Regions from separate parts of the Homo sapiens genome. Here region 2 is linked to region 1. Evidence: promoter capture Hi-C in human tissues and cell types (Jung and others, 2019). All regions are on one chromosome and are shown on one strand. The core of a region is centred on a gene start or on the middle of the fragment in contact, and the rest is flanking DNA. Distances in the headings are between cores, read along the strand shown.

Evidence for each region. Contacts are between HindIII fragments. The study calls those that stand out against the background at their distance.
Region 2: a contact is called between the fragment with the promoter of FBL here and the fragment with the promoter of LRFN1 in region 1, in 1 of the 25 tissues and cell types used here (stomach).

The regions. Positions count from the first base shown.
Region 1 is chr19:39,318,560-39,323,218 of GRCh38, forward strand. LRFN1 (leucine rich repeat and fibronectin type III domain containing 1) reads right to left here and starts at 2,304. Exons shown (of 5, transcript NM_020862.2): 1 at 2,234-2,304. RefSeq lists a silencer at 1,893-2,152. The HindIII fragment of the contact is 12,533 bases long and covers 1-4,659 here.
Region 2 is chr19:39,843,399-39,848,135 of GRCh38, forward strand. FBL (fibrillarin) reads right to left here and starts at 2,981. Exons shown (of 9, transcript NM_001436.4): 1 at 2,893-2,981. The coding sequence starts at 2,902. RefSeq lists an enhancer at 1,786-2,526. The HindIII fragment of the contact is 10,030 bases long and covers 2-4,737 here.

The DNA of each region.
Region 1 (4,659 bases), core at 1,054-3,553:
CCAAAGCCCAGGAGTCGAGGACTTTAGCCCTTTGTCCTCTGGGGTTTCAGGAGCCAAGAACCCCAGCCCCCTCTTCCCTCTGACCCAAGAGTCCAGACCAGACCTCTGGCCCTCCATTAGAACCCAAGAGTTTACATCCCAGCCCCTCAACTCCAAAGTCCTGAACGGTACCAAGAGCTGGGGAAGGGCCAAAGTTTCCCATCCTTGCCATGATACTATTGCCCACACCAACATGTGTGTCCATGTCAGAACCCACGCAAGCCCACAACCCAAGTCTCTACATCTGGATTTCTATGAACATAGCAACATGATCTGTGTGCCCTCCGCCCTCTATGGGCACTTGGCCTGGCATATGGACACACTGTGTCCAGGGACCCCAGGCGGGACCCCAGTATACCAGAGGTCATGCCACATGGGCCTCAAACCCACTGAACCCAAGAGTAGGGACAGCCTTGTGCCAGGGCACAGACACATGTGTCTTTCACATACATGTCTGAACATACACAACCCCCAGAGACCAACACCAAAACACAAACAGACTCACAACATAGATGGATACATACCCTCAAGGTTGACACACCTGCATGCAACAATACATGTACAACACTGACTCTGCCATGCAAGTTCACACACACAAATGCACAGATACAACAGAGAAACTCATGTGCCCCCTAACAGACAACCAGGTACATGCATTTACAACAGATCTACCTTGCACACTCACCAGCACACAGGGGCACACACATCTAACAAACACACACACACCTGTGCAAACATACACAAGTGCACACTCTTAAATGCCTAGACACACTCATACTTCACACATCTCCATGTTGCAAAGTTGATACAGCACCACGCTAACAGATACATACCTCACACACACACACACACACACAAAACCACAAGCATACAGATACGAGGCTGATCCACACTGGAACACGCACACAGGCACAAAAAGATCCACCTTTGCAGACACGCCAAGATGTTCACTCATAACAGACACATGCTCACACAACAGTCCTGTGATTTACACACTTCCAAATGCATAGAAAATACTGAACCACAGTAGCACAGTCAGTAGACAGGCCCAGATTCACACTCACACAGTCTTGGACACACATTCCTCCCAGCCCTGAGGCACCCCCCCACCACCCCACCTACTTACTTCCCAGGCCCAAGAAATCCTAACATCCCTGCAGCACATTCAGCATCCTGCCCTCCACACCCCCAAAAAACCAGGGCAAAAGCCAGGCCAGAGGTCAGAGTTCAGCAGGTGGAAACTCAAGAGGATTTGGGGGTTTGAGTCCTAGATCACCGTTTCAAGGAGATCCTCCCACCAGCAGCCCCAAAGGTTCCCCAGCCTGGCCATCAGGATGGAGGTAACTCTGGCTCCGTCTGCAGATGTCTGGCCGGTGGGGGAATTAGGGTGGAGTGGGTGGGGAAGGGCCGGGTCTTCGCCCCCCAACCCCCACCTCAGGGCCCATCTGTCCATTTCTCGGCCTCTCATCCCCCCTCCATCTGTCCACCTCCTGGCCGCCCATCCCCCCCCCGCAACCACCGGGAAGGGGAAGACATGGCCGCTTCCCCCAGGACCGCTAAGGACCCCCCAGTTGACATGGACCGAGGGAGCGGCGAACTCCCCTCCCCCAAATCCACACCGAGGCCTGGGCGCCGAGCCTCAGCCCCCAAGCCAGCAACCTGCCGTGGACTCACAGATACACACCCTCGGAGACATACAACCCGCAGACACACACACACACACACACACACACACACACACACAAATGGACACCCGAGCGGGCACACCCGGCTCCACAGACCCGGGGATGGACATCCAACCCGGACACAAACACCCAGAGCAGCTAGTCGCGCACGCACATGGGCTTGGGGGGGACCCACACCTGGGCACACAACCCACGCACACACACACCTGCACACAGCCCCTCCGATGGGCGCGCGACAGCGCCCAGACACACAGCCGGAGGGGCGGCCGCTCGGGGGGACACGCGTGCACAGCCGGACACGCCGGCCGGGCTCGACACCCCGCGCACACCCGATGGCCACACGGGCAGGGCGCCGCACACGCCGGCACCGGGCACACATAGGGCCGCGCGGGCGCACGCCGGGCCCGCCGCAGCGCCACGGACACACACTCGCACGCTCGCACGCTCACACCCGCGCACACACCCGCGCCCCCGCCCGCCGCTCCCGGGCCGCTGCAGGCCGCGCTCACCCAGCCCGGGGGGGCCCCGGGCCCGGCCCCGCCGCCGCTGCCTCGCTCCGCGCCATGGTGGGGGGAGGGCCGGGGGAGGGGGCGCGGTGCCGCGGGGCCGCCTCCCTCCCGCCTCCCGCCCTCCCTCCCGAGCCGCAGCCGAGCTCCGCCCTCCGCGCCGCCCGCCGCCACCGCCGCCGCAAGGGGGGAGGGGGCGCCGACTGGTGGGGGCGGCCGGGCGGGGCGGTCGCACACCCGGGATCCCCGCCCCGAACCCGCCGCAGACCCCTCTCCACTGCCGAGCCGCCGCGGGCCCGCCCCCGACCCTTCCCCAGCCCCACCCCCAGCCCCGCCGGCCTCCCCGGAGACCCCCCCAGACCACGCCCCAACTGGCCTAGGGACCCCGGATCTCCCTACAGAGACCTCCCATCACGTCCTAATACCCAGGGGGACCTCGGATCAGGCCTCACCTCTTTTGAGAACCCAGGCGATGTTCTAGGGCCACCCAGGACCACAAATCATGCCCTGCTCTCCTGCTTGACCTCAGACTATGACCCACACACTGTCAGGAACCCCAGACCATGCCCCCAAACCCAGAAGAATCCCAGATCATATCCCAGCATCCAAGGGGATCCAGACCACCCCACCAGCAACCCTAAATCATATCCCAACATTCAGATAGACCCCCAGACCACACCCCTTCCCTCACGGACCCCAAATCATACCCTAACATCGGGGGAGACTTCAGACCATATGTCAGCCAAATCCCAGATGGTGCCTGACTCCCTTTGGGGACCCAAACCACATTCTACAGCCACCAGAACCACAAATCATATTCCACTCCTTCTTGGGGACCCCCAGCCATGTCCTTCTACCCTCAAGGACCCTAACCCATTCCCTTACCCCCAGTATGAACTCCAAACCATGCCTAACTTCTAGGGGGCCCTAAAATGTCTCTTATCCCTATGGAAGACCCTTAAACTTTCCCCATGAACCCCATTAGACCCCAAACCATCTTCCACCCCTTTGACCTTACACCTTTCTCTCTCCTTCTCCTCCAAGACATCCTTTGGTTTCCAAAACTCCCCAATTAGCCCCAATTTTTTCCCACCCCCTACTAGTCCTGCCCCCTTGAGGACCCTGCCTCCTTCTTGCTCCAGTTCTTTCTCTTGGACCCTGAAAGTCCCCCCTCCCTGTGACTTCCATAGAGCCCAGAATGCCTTGCTCCTTCCTAGTTCAGACCCCTTTGCCCATCCCCTGTCCCATAGCTGAACCCCACCCCTTCCCTCAAACCCCACTGAGTATCTCAGGCCACTCTCCTTCTCTTTCTGAGATATTCACAGGGTCCCTAAACCCAGCAACTTCTCCCCTAAAAATCTGTGTTGTTTCATGCAGTGCCCCAGATTCCTGGGGTCTCAAACCCTTCTCGTTTTGGATCCCACTGTACAGAGGTCCTCCTCTAAACCCCTTTCCTAATTTTTTTTTTTTTTTAGACAAAGTCTCACTCTGTCACCCAGGCTGGAGTAGAGTGGCACGATCTCGGCTCACTGCAACCTCCACCTCCCAGGTTCAAGCAATTCTCCTGCCTCAGCCTCCCTAGTAGCTGGGATTACAGGTGTGCGCCACCACGCCCGGCTAATTTTTCTTTTCTTTTTCTTTTTTCTTTTCTTTTTTTTTTTTTTTTTGAGACAGAGTCTTGCTCTGTTGCCCAGGCTGGAGTGCACTGGCATGGTCTCCGCTCACCGCAACCTCTGCTTCCCGGGTTCAAGCAATTCTCCTGCCTCAGCCTTCCGAGTAGCTGGGACTACAGGCATGTCCCACCATGCCTGGCTACTTTTTGTATTTTTAGTGGAGACAGGGTTTTGTCATGTTGGCCAGGCTGGTCTCGAACTCTTGGCCTCAAGTGATCCGCCCGCCTCAGCCTCCCAAAGTGCTGGGATTACAGGCATGAGCCACCGCACCCAGTCTAATTTTTCTTTCTTTCTTTTTTTTTATTTGTTTGTTTTTGAGTCAGAGTCTCACTCCATCACCCAGGCAGGAGTGCACTGGTGTGATCACAGCTCACTGCAGCCTGGACCTCCTGGGCTCAAGTGTTCCTCCCATCTCAGCCTCCTCAGTAGCTGTTTTGTTTTTGGTTTTGTTTTAGTTTTTTTATAAATGGAGTCTCACTATGTTGCCCAGGCTGGTCTTGAACTCCTGACCACGGTGGTCATGAGCTACTGTGCCTGGCCTAAATTATTTACATGAAGCCCGCCCTATCCCCCAGATCAAGCTCAGCTCTGCAGATAACTCCTTCTGGTGAACCTTAACCCCAAGCGCAACTCTGAGATGTCCCTGGGGACACTCACAATCCCCCTATTCTCCAGACTCCACCCTTCATCGCCACCACCCAGGCAGCATCCCCACCTCCCACCGTGGTTGCTAGTGCTCCCTGCTGGAGCTTGGGG
Region 2 (4,737 bases), core at 1,731-4,230, 530 kb after region 1:
AATGTTGCTGCCACTCTCGACCCTAGTAAGGAAGGTTCATAGGGGTCTTGAAAACTTCATCTGTAAGACATGGAGACAATACAGTGCCAGGCCACGCGCCATAGCTCATGCCTGTAATCCCAGCACTTTGGGAGACCCAGGCAGGCGGACAGTTTGAGGCCAGGAGTTCAAGACCAGCCTGGCCAACATAGTGAAACCCTGTCTCTACTAAAAATACAAAAAATTAGCTGGGCGTGGTGGCGCATGCCTGTAATCCCAGCTACTCAAAAGGCTGAGGCACAAGCATCAATTGAACACAGGCGGAGGTTGCAGTGAGCTGAGATGGTGCCACTGCACTCCAGCCTGGGTGACAGAGAGAGATTCTGTATCAAAAAAATAAAAATAAAAAAAATGCAGTGCTCATCCTATAGGGTTGTAAAGATTAAATGACTTGTACCCACAGAGCACATCACATATATACTATCTGGCACCTACTTTGAACATCATCATTCAAACTCAGGGGTACGCGTCTCCTCTTCCCTCCTCATGTACCAAAAGTACCCATTCCTCAGAAAAAACACATGTTCACACAAACTTTTCCAGTTAGTTCTTTTTTCATCTTTCTATTAAAGATGAAAATGTAACTTTTAATAGCTACTCCTAATTTGATCTTTTAAAATGAAGTTTCCTTTTCAAAACTCTAGAACATAACTAAGAGTTGTTCACTTTTTAATGTTCTACTCCCCCTACAGTCCACTTTCCACACAGCAACTAATAAGTGCTGTTTTTGAAACAGCAACTCAGATCTCAATTTTCTTGCCCAAGCCCTCCAACAGTTTTCCAAAGCCAAGACCTTCATTTAGGGGAGATGCCACAGCTAGGCTTATGAAAGTCTCAACCCAGGCCTAACAGAAAGGAAGTACTGGCATGTGCTTGGGGCGGAGTGGGCATGAGTGTAAACTTTCAATCCCAGATACTCAAAACATCTCAATCCGTTTCAGGTCCTGGAGCTTTTGGGGGAAAATGTACCAAAAGTACCCAGTCCTCAGAAAAAACACATGTTCACACAAACTTTTCCAGTAAGTTCTTTTTTTGGGGGGAGGGGGGTCCATAAACCCCCTGATTTAAAATCTGCTCTCCTTCCACAGCCTTCTCCATCTCAAAAATGGCAATTCCATCCTTCCAGTTACACACCCCCAAACCCTTGGTTATCCTTGACTCCGATCACACACCCACATACAATCTGTTGGTTCTGTCTTCAAAAGCATGTAAAACTGTCAGCATGTCCACTGCTCCCATCCTGGTCCACCACACCATCTCCTAGATTACAGCAACAAGCTTCCCACCAATGTGCCTGCTTCCACTTTTGCCACCCTGAGGTCTTTCACACATCGAAGCAAAAAGAATCCCTTTTAAAAATGTCAGACTGCACCACGCCCCTGCTCAAAAATCTCCCAAAGGGTTCTTTTCTCACTCAGGCTAAAATCCTTACTAAAGAGCTAACACCTGACAACTTTTACAACTTCACATTCTACCACACATGGAGGAAGGTTGGAAGAACGGGTATCCTCCATTTATGAGGGAATCACAGACCAGAATGCCTGCAGGCAAGCCAGGATCTCAGCATACCTGGCCTACAATCCCCCACCCCACTTCATCAAGAGATCCCCAAACACGGAAGAGAAAGGGAACTTGGGAGAAGGGCACAGATCCACAAATCTCCTGCCAGGTGACCCCCATCTCTCCACACAAACACACACACAAAAGAAAAAGAAAGCCTGTACTAGGAAAACAGACCCTTTGGGCCATGGTGGAAATTCTCCAAACTCAATGAAGCAAGTTCTCACACAGATGAGTGCGGGTTGGGCAGGCCAGATGGAGGAAGTGCTCAGGCACCACCGAGAAGGATTCTAATGTTGTTCTCTTTGAGAAAGATAAAGGTAACAATTAGAGCTAATACTATTATATGTCAAGCACTGTGCTATTTTTTTTAACGTCGCTTAATCCTAACTGGCGCCATTTTATTGATGAGAAAACAGAGGCTCAGAGAGGTAAAGCCACTTGCCCAAGTTCACACAGCAGGCTAAGAAGCTGAGCAAGAGCTGACACACTGAACTGAGGCCCTTCTGCTGTCAAAGCCAGGACCCCCTCATCATTCCACCATGAAGGGAGTGGTTTCAGCAGAATCTAGTGGAAAATCTTAAGAATAAAACTACTTACCTCCTGTGACAACCACCCGCCCCACCACCCCAGACTAATGCCGAGCTTGTTAAGTCTCGTCCCGGAGGTGGAAATCTTAATCCCCAAATCTCCACTCCATCCCCGGGGATCCGCCCCACTGTAAGTGCAGAAGGCGGGAAAGTGAGCCGAAGAGCGCCGCACACGGCCAACCGGGGAGTCCTCATCCACTCCGGCCCACTCGGAAAAGCTGGGATGCGGGATAAGGGGATGGTGGTGGTGGCAGCGACAGGGAAGGCAAATGGGGGCTTCCCACACACAGCTCCAGGACCCAAGGTCAGGAACTCTCCATCTCCGACCCAAGCCTGATTCCCAAAACACGCCCAGCGATCCAAGACTCCAGATGCCTGAATCCAAACTCTAGCCCAAGACCCTTGAGTGCCGCCTCCTGCCCAATATCCAAAATCCCTATTAGACGGCCTCAATGAGACGAACCCCACGTCAACACCCCCAATGCCAGGCCCACGGCCTTCTTCGACTCACGACCGTGACCTCTGAAGCCAGTCACAAACCCCTAGACCTGCTGGAATCAGAATCCCCCTTCCCACAGGAGACTGGAACCCGTGCTCAGAACCCCTGCCCCCAGGCCAAGGCCCCACCCCTCCGATTCTGGCCTGGCACCCGGATTCCCGCCCGGCCTCCGTCCCTGACCCCGGACCCTCACCCCAGCCTGACCTGGCTTCATGGCGAGCCCTGGTTTGTGCGGCTCCGGAGTCCGCGGCGTTCACAACTCCACGAGTCCGGGGCTTTCGCACGTGGAAAAGAGCGCAGGCGCGCGGCGACGTGCGCTGCGTGACGCCACCCCGTAGTCCCGCCCCCGGGCCCCTTCCCCGCCCGGAGCTCGGCGCACGCGCAGTGAGCCTGGATTCTCGAGCCTGTCGACACGCAACCCGCTGCCCTCGCTCTCTGCCTTCCCAGCCTTTGCCTGTGCAGCGGTCGCCCTAAACTCGCTTCCGGTTTCCTCTTCCCCAATGCGAGCACCCCAATAATCAGGGCTCATAGCCTTCGCACGGGCTGTGCCCTCTTTTGTATTCCTAGCTAAATCCCTCTGGCCCCTGTACACCCAAAAAGGCTTCCCCAATACATTTCCAGCCCCAAGAACAGTGACCGACTCTGGGCTTCCATTCAAACATCCGAAAAACATTTACAGTGCACCTCGTGTGTACCAGGTGCTGTTCTAGGAGCTGGGAATACAGCGGTGTACGAGACATAAAAATCTCCACTCTCCTGGAGTTCATCTTTTTAATGGAGGAAATAGACACCAAACATGTTGAATGTTTGAAAGCGATAAGTGCTTTGGAGAAAATAACAGCAGGGAAAGGGGATAGAGATTTTGGAGGGCAAATGATTTTTGTTTTTTTGGCACGGTGGTCAAGGAATGCATCAGGAGACTTTTGAGCTAAAGGGCTGAAGGAAGTGAGGAGTGAGGCATGCACCTATCTAGGGGAAGAGAGTTCCAGGCAGGGAAAAGATCTGCAGATGCAGAGGCCCTGAGGAAGGAAAGATATGGGAAGTTGGAGAGACAATGAGGAGGGTGGGTGGGGCAAAGTGAGCAAGGTGGAGAGTAAGAGGAGATAAGGGCGGGTAGCTAACAAGGGCAGATTGTGCGGAGCTTTGTGGGACATAGTGAGGACTTAGGCAGTAAGATGGAACCATGGAAGGGTTCCAAGCAGAGAAGGAATGTGATCTGACACAGGTCCCTCTGGCTGCATGTGGGAAGCAGACTGCAGGAGTGAGGGTGAAAGCAGGAAAACCAAGGACTGGCTGCTGCCGTGAATCAGAAGAAAAGGATGGACAGATCAGAGTGGGGGCAGAGAGCGGCGTCAGGGGTCAACAGATTCTGCTTAAGTATTAAGAATTTTGGGCTTTGTAATTGTGTAATATCAGTATCCATCCCTATATTCATTCTGCAAAGCAAGACAACTGCTGTTATGAGAAGTTACCGAAAAACTCCAGAAGAACCTACCAGTCCAGAGCCTAGATGTTGACTCTGTTCCATTCACTGCTCTATCACTCTAGGCCTAGGACAGCCCTCTGGGTGCCCAGTAAATGTTTGTTGAATGAATGGATGGCCTCATACCGTTGTGAGTTCTCTGTGTACAGTGTTCCAGCTGTGGAATGCCACCAATTTGCACAGAAACATTCCTGAAAGATTGTTTAGATATTATGATGGAAAATCTGCTTAAACTTTTCAGAACCGGTCGGGGCAGTGGCTCACACCTGTAATCCAGGCACTTTGGGAGGCCGAGGCAGGAGGATCGCTTGAGCCCAGGAGCTTAAGGCCAGCCTGGGCTACAGAGTGAGACCTTATCTTTACAAAAAATAAAAAATTAGCTGGGTATGGTTGCTTGCACCTGTAGTCCCAGCTACTCAAGAGGCTGAGGCAGGAGGATCCTTTGAGCCCAGTAGGTCTAGGCTGAAATGAGCCATGACTGCACCACTACACTCCAGCCTGGGTCACAGAGCGACACCCCTGTCCCAAAACAAAAACAAAAACCAAACAAAAAAAACTTTTTAAAA